Regions from separate parts of the Homo sapiens genome. Here region 1 is linked to region 2. Evidence: promoter capture Hi-C in 16 types of primary human blood cells and fetal thymus (Javierre and others, 2016). All regions are on one chromosome and are shown on one strand. Each heading gives the region's core, a stretch centred on a gene start or on the middle of the fragment in contact. The rest is flanking DNA. Distances are from core to core; before and after follow the strand shown.

Evidence for each region. Contacts are between HindIII fragments. The CHiCAGO score rates a contact against its expected background, and 5 or more counts as called.
Region 1: a fragment that was not itself captured here is called in contact with the fragment with the promoter of GPRC5C in region 2 in 1 of 17 cell types (neutrophils); the score reaches 5.3 in neutrophils.

Annotation. Positions count from the first base shown.
Region 1 is chr17:74,645,344-74,649,828 of GRCh38, forward strand. No RefSeq gene overlaps it. Among named protein-coding and RNA genes, the nearest start is that of CD300E, 24 kb to the left of the region's middle. The HindIII fragment of the contact is 2,253 bases long and covers 131-2,383 here.
Region 2 is chr17:74,430,667-74,435,403 of GRCh38, forward strand. GPRC5C (G protein-coupled receptor class C group 5 member C) reads left to right here and starts at 1,422. Exons shown (of 4, transcript NM_022036.4): 1 at 1,422-1,475. RefSeq lists a silencer at 295-434. The HindIII fragment of the contact is 4,765 bases long and covers 1-4,246 here.

The DNA of each region.
Region 1 (4,485 bases), core at 7-2,506, 210 kb after region 2:
TTCCTCCAAATCTCAAATAAATTATCATTCATTCAACTCAACAAATATTTACTGGACACCTACTACATGCCAAATACCGTGCTAGGTGCTGGAATGCAGCAACAAACAAATCAAGCTTCTGTCCTCAGGAAGCTTACATTCTCCTAGGGGGAGGGGGAGAGGAGAAAATAAACACATATAAAATGTACCAGGTGGTCATAAGTGCCCCGAAGACAAAAAGGGTAGAGGGAGTGAGGGGAGGCAAATGCTATTGTATTAATATCTATAGAGAAGGTATCTATGATAAAGTGTTATCTTATTTTAACAGAGACCTGAAAGAAGGGTGGGAGCCACACTGACAGCTGCAGGTGAAGAGTGCAAGGTAGGCCGGGTGCGGTGGCTCACGCCTGTAATCCCAGCATTTTGGGAGGCCAAGGTGGGCGGATCACGAGGTCAGGAGATCGAGACCATCCTGGCTAACACGGTGAAACCCCGTCTCTACTAAAAATACAAAAAATTAGCTGGGCAAGGTGGCAGGCGTCTGTAGTCCCACCTACTCGGGAGGCTGAGGCAAGAGAATGGTGTGAACCCCAGGGGGCGGAGCCTGCAGTGAGCCGAGATCGCGCCACTGCACTCCAGCCTGGGTGACAGGAGACACCATCTCAAAAAAAAAAAAGAGTGCAAGGTAGAGGGGGCTGCTGTGCAAAAGTCCTGGGGTGGGAGCAGAGGCCACCATGGCTCAGGAAGAGGGAATGAGGGCAAGAGTGGAATGAGACGAGATCAGAAAGGAAACAGAGTCATCATTTAAGGGCCCATAGGCCTTAATAGGGAGTTGGATTTGACTCTGAATGATGCAGGGAGCCATTGGAGAATTACGTGACCTGGCTTACTTTAAAAGGATCACACGGGCTGCTGCGAGGAAAAAACAATTGACAGAGGTAAGGCAGGAAACTGGGAGACATGAATAAGCAATTGTAGCCTTCCAGGTGTGAGACAACGGTGGGCTAGGCCATGTGGGGGAAGTGGATGGGGTGAGACATCGCTGGAGCCCAGTTGAATCAATGCCCCTAATGGAAGTTCCCAGAGCACCTCCTTCTTCTATGGTGGTTGTAATGGGACATTTATTGGTGCACATTTGATTAATGTCTGTCTCCCCCTACTGGGCTATAAGCCTCAAGAAGGCAAGAAATGGGTCTTCTTTGCTCACCATTGCATTTCCAACATCCAGTGCCCACAATATATGCTCTATATAGTTTTCTTGAATGAATGAATGAATGAATGAACAAATACCCCAAAAACAAAAGCACAAACACACAATCCTTTAAGTCTACTTGGGAAGCCCAGCCTTCCCTGCTCTCTTGAGGCTCTGCAAGAAGCAGTCATGCAACATCCACTCCATGCCCAGCACCTTCCAGGCACAATATTAAAGAAGTGCAGGGGCCAGGTGCAGTGGCTCACCCCTGTAATCCCAGCACTTTGGGAGGCCGAGGTGGGTGGATCACAAGGTCGGGAGTTTGAGACCAGCCTGGCCAATATGTGAAACCCTGTCTCTACTAAAAATACAAAAATTAGCTGGGCATGGTGGCAGGCACCTGTAGTCCCAGCTACTCAGGAGACTGAGGCAGGAGAATCGCGTGAACCTGTGAGGTGGCAGTTGCAGTGAGCCAAGATCACACCACTGCACTCCAGCCTGAGCAACAGAGAGAGACTCTGTCACAAAAGAAAAAGAAAAAGAACAAGAGCAGGGCAGTGTGACATTTGCTACCCAGGTTCAGGTCCAGGGTCTGCCAGCCATGGCCAGAGACATAATAATTGCTAAGAATTACTGAGTTTACTTTGTTTCAGAGACCACTTTAGATGCTTTCTGTTATTACTTTGCTTAAATCCCGTGCAAGTCAAACAAAGTAGGTATTATTATTATTATCCAGATGCATAAACTGTATGGCACAATCACACATCCCTGGGTCCTCCCAGGAGGGCCACCACACTCTGAAACTCCAGTCTTTTCTATTTTTCAGAGACGGAGTCTCACTCTGTCGCCCAGGCTGGAGTGCAGTGGTGCAATCTCAGCTCACTGCGATCTTCACCTCCCAGGTTCAAGCGATTCTCCTGCCTCAGCCTCCCAAGTAGCTGGGATTACAGGTGCCCACAACCATGCCCAGTTGATGTGTGTGTGTGTGTGTGTGTGTGTGTGTGTGTGTGTTTAGTAGAGATGGAGTTTTGCCATGTTGGCCAAGCTGATCTCGAATTCCTGACCTCAGGTGATCAGCCTGCCTTGGCCTCCCAAAGTGCTGGGGTTACAGGCATGAGCCACCGCACCTGGCCTGAAACTCCTTTCCAAACCTAAGTTTAGATTTCCAATGCCACTGAAATCTCACCTAAATTCAGGGCAATCAGAGGGAGAAGCTTCTACACACCCCAAATCTCAGGCTGTCTCTCCATCTCCTTCCCTTGGTCAAGTGGCAACCTCCCAAGGACGGCCACAAGGCACCCAGAGCCCAGCTGCAGAGTCCACTGGCTCTGTGGGAGTCCTGGAGATAAAGGACACCACCGTCCCCTCTCAGATGCCCCAAGCTAAATGGACCCAGCAAAGCCTGGCCCAGCAGCTCCAACTGCTGTCTGTGGGGAAGCTGGCTGAAAGAGCTCCGGGGCAGGCTCCGTGTCTTATCTGTCCTGCAAATCCAGAGCTGTGGGTGCCAGGAGCCAAAGCCTCATTTCTGAGCCTGGTTTGTGTCCTAGCTTAGCCCAGATCCTAAAAGTCAGGAGATGAAGGAATGGCCATCATTCTTCTTGACTCAACTGCATGTTTGAGAACTAAGATGCCAGGACTCACAGTGACAGGAGAGGCAGTGCAGTCCCCCAGTGCATAGCAGCTGCACCCTGAGGCTGGTGTGTCTGAGCAAAGCCAATGCAGAGCTGCGGGCCCTACAGATCCCATGGGGAAGGAGGGAGAGGGGAGGGCAGGGGAGGGTAGCAGCTGAGGAGGGTTCTCACTGCCTCGCCTGAAGCTGAAACCTAGCATCCAGTGGGTGATAGTGCCTGGCACGTTGCATTTCCCAGGGATGGAAAAATGTACTTTTGTCCCCTCCAATCAGTTGGAGGTGTGCCTGGAAAAGTGAGTTGAGAAGGATGGGGCTGAGCTTGGGCCTCCTGGGCTATCACAGCCACTGAGTACTGAGTGAAGAGTGATGGCTGATGAGAGAGGGAAGCGAGGGTGGGTGTGCGTGTGCCAGGCTTTCACAGCTCCAGAGCTGAGCTGCTCCAGAGCTCATATCGATAGAGACAGAATAACTTCATCCACAGGATTCTGCCTGCTGAGAATCAGAAACAAGTTCCCTCTTCCTGGCCAGCCATGCCAAGAGCCCTCAGCTAGACCCGTCAGGATTCTAGGTCCCTAAGGGGCACGGAGCCTCCATGGACTGTCCTGTTTGTGGTTTTAGCCTCTGGGAACAGTTGGCTCCCATCTGACCCAGCAGCAGCCAGAAAACATCACCACACTTGATCCAAGAACCCACCGTTGGGGCCACCAGGCAACCAAGCCACCAGGCTGAAGTTGCAGGCAGCCCCTAGCCCTCTCTCCTCACCTCTCCGTCACCCTCTTCCTCCTCCTTTCCTGCCATTCGCCATCTATCAAAATAAAAACTCAAATTTTAAGGACAAATCCTAGAAAATGAGTGAATACAGAACATCAGGGAAGAGGAATGTAGCATTAGTTTTATCCCTTAGGCCTTGAGCATTGATGAGTTTAAAGAAGGAAAAATCAAGAAGGAAACTTGAGTGAAGAGAGGCAACGAATGGGGGAAAAGCTGGGCAAGATGTTAGAAGGACCGGATTCTAGTCCCAGTTCACCACTCACCTGGGGCACCAGACGTCACTGTTCTCACCTGAGGTCCTGGTTGTGCATAGGGTTGTCTCTGGGCATTGGAGGGGAGAACCAGGGAGCCGGCCCCCAGGACCACCCCTGCATCACTTAATGCAGCTTCCAGATTACATTTTATTTTTAGTAGAGACGGGGCTTCACCATGTTGGCCAGGCTAGTTTTGAACTCCTGGCCTCAAGTGAAACACACACCTCAGCCTCCCAAAGTGCTGGGATTACAGGCGTGAGCCACTGTGCCTGGCCTCCAGATTACGTTTTATTTCAACAAGAGTTTCTGCAACCAAAAAAATTAGAGTATTAAATATTTTCTACAAAGAGTATATACGACCTGTAAGTTATAAAGAATAATAAAATGCACACCTATGTGCCCCCACCCAGCTTAAGAAAGAGAATAACTTTAATTTTTTTATTTATTTTTTGTTTCCTGATTCAAATGTAACATATATTGACTATAGAAATTTTGCAAGATCCGGAAGAGAGAAAACAAGTATCACCACAACTTCATTATCTTTTTGCAAACATTCTGGTGACAATTCTTTCCTGTTTATCCTGGGTGTGTATCTTTTTTCTGAAATTGAGATCCTATGGTGCAAATTGTCCCCTTTTTTCCATCATGGCCATCTTCCT
Region 2 (4,737 bases), core at 172-2,671:
AACATTCCCTCCAGGAGTCCGAGAAGCCGGTGTGCGAGGGGAGGAACCAGCCTGAGGTTTATCGCTCCAGCAACTCCGGGTGATTCATAGAGTTTAGACTCCCGGTTGTCGTAGACCGCGGCAGGCACGCAAACAAGCAGCCCGGGAGATACCCTCCCCTTTCCCAGCCCCCGCTCCTCCACCTTGCTACCCCCTAGCCCGTGACCAGCTGCCTCCCCTCCCCCTCGCGGGCGCTCAGGGTTGAGCAAACACTCCGGGCCGCCCGCCCCGCCACCAGCTGGCTCCGACCGGCGCACCGCTGGCGATCCCCCAGGCAATTCGGCGTCATGAGAACCGGCACCCCGAGACTCGGCGCCCTGCCCTCCCTCCGCGTCTCCAGGGCCCTGGCCAGGCCCAACAACCTCTCCCTCCTCTGTGCGCCTCAGCCCCTACGGGCCTCTGGCGCGGGCTAACTAGGCCTCGCTGCGGGCCCCCAGGACTGCGCACCCCACCCCCCGCGAGGCCAGCAGCCCCGGGGGAAGGCGGCCGGAAAATCTCTTGTTTATCGGGCTGGATAAGTACCAGCCTGGATTCGCTTCCCAATTTCTGCGGTCCAGCTTCAGCAGATTCCTGGGGCCGGAGGGGAAAGGGTGGCAACCCACAGATCCACCCCGGAACAGGGAGTGGGGGGTGGGGCTGGTGGGAACCTGACCTCCTGGAAAGGACGGACTCGGAGTCAGAGCCAACGTGTCCCGGAGCGCAGAGGCCCAGGGGGTCGCGCTAAACACTGTACCTCGGGGAACAAAACCGTGAAGGCTAATTAGGACAAGTCGGAGCAGGGAACGGGGACGCCGGGAGGGGAGAGCGCGCTCCGAGTTGGGCAGAACCTGGAACGGTCACAGGAAACCCGGGCGCGGGGTAGTCGGGCCGAGGGGGACCTTTGCCCACGGTCCAGAGTGGTCTGGACTCGGCCCACGCGTGAGAGGAGCGCTTGGTGACGATCCCACGTACGCTTGGTGACTGGTGGAGGTCCCAGAGAAGGACCGTGCGTGCAAAAGGCGAACCTCGGTGTGCGGTGTGTCCACGTGTGCAAGCTGGGGAGGGGAGGGGGCGCAGAAGGCGTGACAAAGACGGACTCTGTCTTGAGTGTGCGCCTCGCTCCGGCCCGCTCCCAGCGAACTGTGCCTGAAGTGTGTCTCACGGGAGGGCCAGGACGAAGGTGACAAAGGCTAGGTGTCCCCCACGGAGACGCGCCAAGGTAGCCCCGCGCGTGTCCGTAGGCGCGCTCTCTGGAAGACGCGGTGGGGGGTGCGCAGGGCTGCACCCTCACACCAATTGCCCCGGCGAAGGCCGAGCCCAGAAAGTGAGTGCGCGTGAGTGTGCGCGCGCCCGCATGCGGGGGCGTGGCAGTCAACAGCAACAACCCACACGCCGGCAGGGCCAGAAACTCCCATCTCCCTCACCAGCCGGAAAGTACGAGTCGGCTCAGCCTGGAGGTGAGTCGGGGCGGGGAGGGCCGGGCAGGCTTTGTTCCTGTGTAAACGGAGCGCACGTACCTGGAGCGCGGCGGGCGCCCGATTAGCGCCCTGAATGGAGGTGATGTAACGGTGATGCAGGCTCCAGCCCACCCTCGCCGAAAGCAAGGAGCCCTGCCTGGGGACAGGCCCGCGCGAGAGCGAGCAACCCAGCGCGCCTGGCTCAGCCTCGGTCCCAGGGAGAGGCAGGCCCTGCGTCCCGGCCCGGGCCCCGCCATCCCAGCCAGGACCGGGCCTGGCCCAGCGCCCCGCGCCGCGTCCCTCCCACCCCCGCCCGCCCCCCGCCTGGGGCTGGAGTTGGCCCCAAACGCTGCGCTGGAGCGGGGCCGGCGGCGAGTCCCAGGTAAGGGCTGCTGCCTTCCCGCTCCGCCGCCCGGAAGAGTCGGGTCGGGACGGCGGGGAGTGGGCGAGGGCAGAGGCGGGGGGACTGGACATCCTGCGGGCTGGGGACGCCGCGCCAACTCCGCTCGGTCGCTGAAAGTTTTCAAACCCGAGCCGGCTGGGGACTGGGGGGGTGGGGGAGCCCGGCGCTGCGGCTCGGGCTGGAGGGAGGGGAAACCACTCCATAATCGGGGTCTCCAAGAGGAGCCCCTCCACCGCCTGCCTCTCGGTGGGAGTCCGCGGTCACTCTCTCTCGTGGGTGGCGTCCTCTCTGCCGCCTGCTACTGTGGATGTGGAGGGCAGGTTTCTGTGGCCCTAAAAATGGGAGAGAGTGACTGGTTCCCTTGCTCCCCATTCCAGCCACCCAGGGAGCGCAGGTGTAGACCCCAGTACCGTCGACCCAAGTAGGGACGAGAGGGTTCAGAATCCCCCTGAGGGAAGTTTGGAAATTCAGACTATCAAAGCGCCTCCCCTTCTGGTAGCCTGGCCCCTAGATCCCGAACCCCCACTCCCGGCTGGCTTTTCCAGCGTCCTTTGCACCTCCATCCCCAGGCCCGCAGTGTTACACGCTGGAAGACCCAATCACTTACAAACTCCACGATCAAGATCCTAAAGCCCGGGAGAGGAGACTGTTGGAAGTAGGGTTTTGTGCTCCTGGAGCTTCCTCTCCCCGCCGGCCCCCCACCCCTGTGCCTTCAACTGGACTGGGGGAGGGAGTGCATTGGGGGGTGGGGCGCATTCCAGAGTGACATTCCAGAGCAGACCCTTGAAGATTTCCAAGTCTCAGAGAGCTCAGGGCATTTTGGCCCAAATGCCTGGTCTTGGTGCGGGGCAGGGGCAGGGGGATAGGGGTGGGGTGTCTAGGCTGAGGTTCGAGGAACCCCAACCCACCCCCCACCAACCTACACACTGAGGCCGCTCCTTCCAGGCACAGGCGTCTCCTGTGCGCCTTCTTATCGATGGGGTAAACGCCTGAGCGCCCTGCACAGAGGGGTGAGACAGTGGGACCTAACCAGGGACTGGGAGAGACCGATAGGAGTGGAGGCAGGAAGGCTGTCAGTCGGGCCATCGTCTTTCCCTATAGGCTCTTGAGTGTGTGGGATGGGAGGAAGGCAAGTGCTCTGTGGTATCCCTGGGGGAACCTCCCTGAAGAGTGCCCTGGTCACAGCACCCTTGAAGACAGCCATTGGCCATGGGTCAGTGTTGAGTTTGGTTGGCCCTGTGACGCGCTGGAGCTCTCTTTCCAGTGCGGTATCCTTGGCCCTGGTGGGTGGAGGGGGTCTCAGGCTTGTGTGTGGATGATGCTGGAGCGAGGAAGGGAGTTTTGCTCTGGAGAAGTGAGAAGGCCTGGCTGTCTCCCCGGTTGCTGGATGAAGCCACTTGTTGCTGGGGGAAACCAGTCAGGGCTGCTTGGGCCTCTGGGCCTCTGAGCCTCTGAGCCCACCAGGCCTCTGCGCCCCCTGGAGAGAGAAGGAGGGAGGAGGGAGGTTCAGCAACTGGACTGCACTGACTCACAGGAGAGCTGGGGGCAGGGTGGCTGAGCCTGGGGAAAGGCCGATTTCGGAGGCGATTAAAAATATTTGTACAACTGATTCCAGGGAAGTGAAGCAAAAGGCCCTTTTGTCCAGAAAATAATCTGAGGCTGGAGCTGGGCTTCAGCTGTGGGGTGGGGGAGACTCAGGGCGGAAGGAGGTTCCCCTCCTACCCCCCTCCTTGAACCCTCTGAGAATCTTTAAGCAGAAGATGCAACTCCAACATGGAGGGGACAACCCTGGGTGTGGAGAAATGCACCTGGGACCATCCAGAGGTGACTTCCAAATGCCCACTGTGTTCAGGCACAGCACCAGCTGTGGCAGTGGATTCTAGAAGTCTTGTTCACCAGCTTCAAAGACCTTACAGCCCTGGAGGGGAGACACGGACATGATTTGAACGTTCAGGGATCAGAAGGCTCAGTCTTAGTGCAGGGTCTGGGGACCCACAGGAGGCAGAAGTTTCCTCCAGGGTCCTGAGGAAAAGCCTCTGACCAGAGCTGAGTCCATCTTGTCAGTCCCTTAGCCACCATCTTAAAAGGTGGCATTGGGCCGGGAACGGTGGCTCACACTTGTAATCCCAGCACTTTGAGAGGCTGAGGTAGGTGGATCACCTTAGGTCAGGAGTTTGAGACCAGCCTGGCCAACATAGTGAAACCCTGTCTCTACTAAAAATACAAAAATTAGTTGGGCATGGTGGTGGGCACCTGTAATCCCAGCTACTCGGGAGGCTGAGGCAGGAGAATTGCTTGAACCTGGGAGTTGGAGGTTGCAGTGAGCCGAGATCATGCCATTGCACTCCAGTCTGGGCAACAAGAGTGAAGCTTCGTCTCAAGAAAAAAAAAAAGGCTGGGCGCAGTGGCTCACGCCTGTAATCCCAGCACTTTGGGAGGCCGAAGCGGGCGGATCACGAGGTCAGGAGATTGAGACCATCCTAGCTAACACGGTGAAACCCCGTCTCTACTAAAAATAGAAAAAATTAGCCGGGCGTGGTGGCGGGCGCCTGTAGTCCCAGCTACTCGGGAGGCTGAGGCAGGAGAATGGCATGAACCTGGGAGGCGGAGCTTGCAGTGAGCCGAGATCACGCCACTGCGCTCCAGCCTGGGCGACAGAGCGAGACTCCGTCTCAAAAAAAGAAAAAAAAAAGGCATTGGCTGAATGTGCACTCCCGGCATCAGAGGGCTGGAGCTGTGCTCTTCTGAGCTTCTCTTTAACTCTCTGAGGGTCCCTGTCCTAGGCAGTGGATGAGAGCCACGCCCAGAAAGCCCAGGTTTCCCACCTGAGTCCATGTATTTCTGTCTTCCCACCTGCCC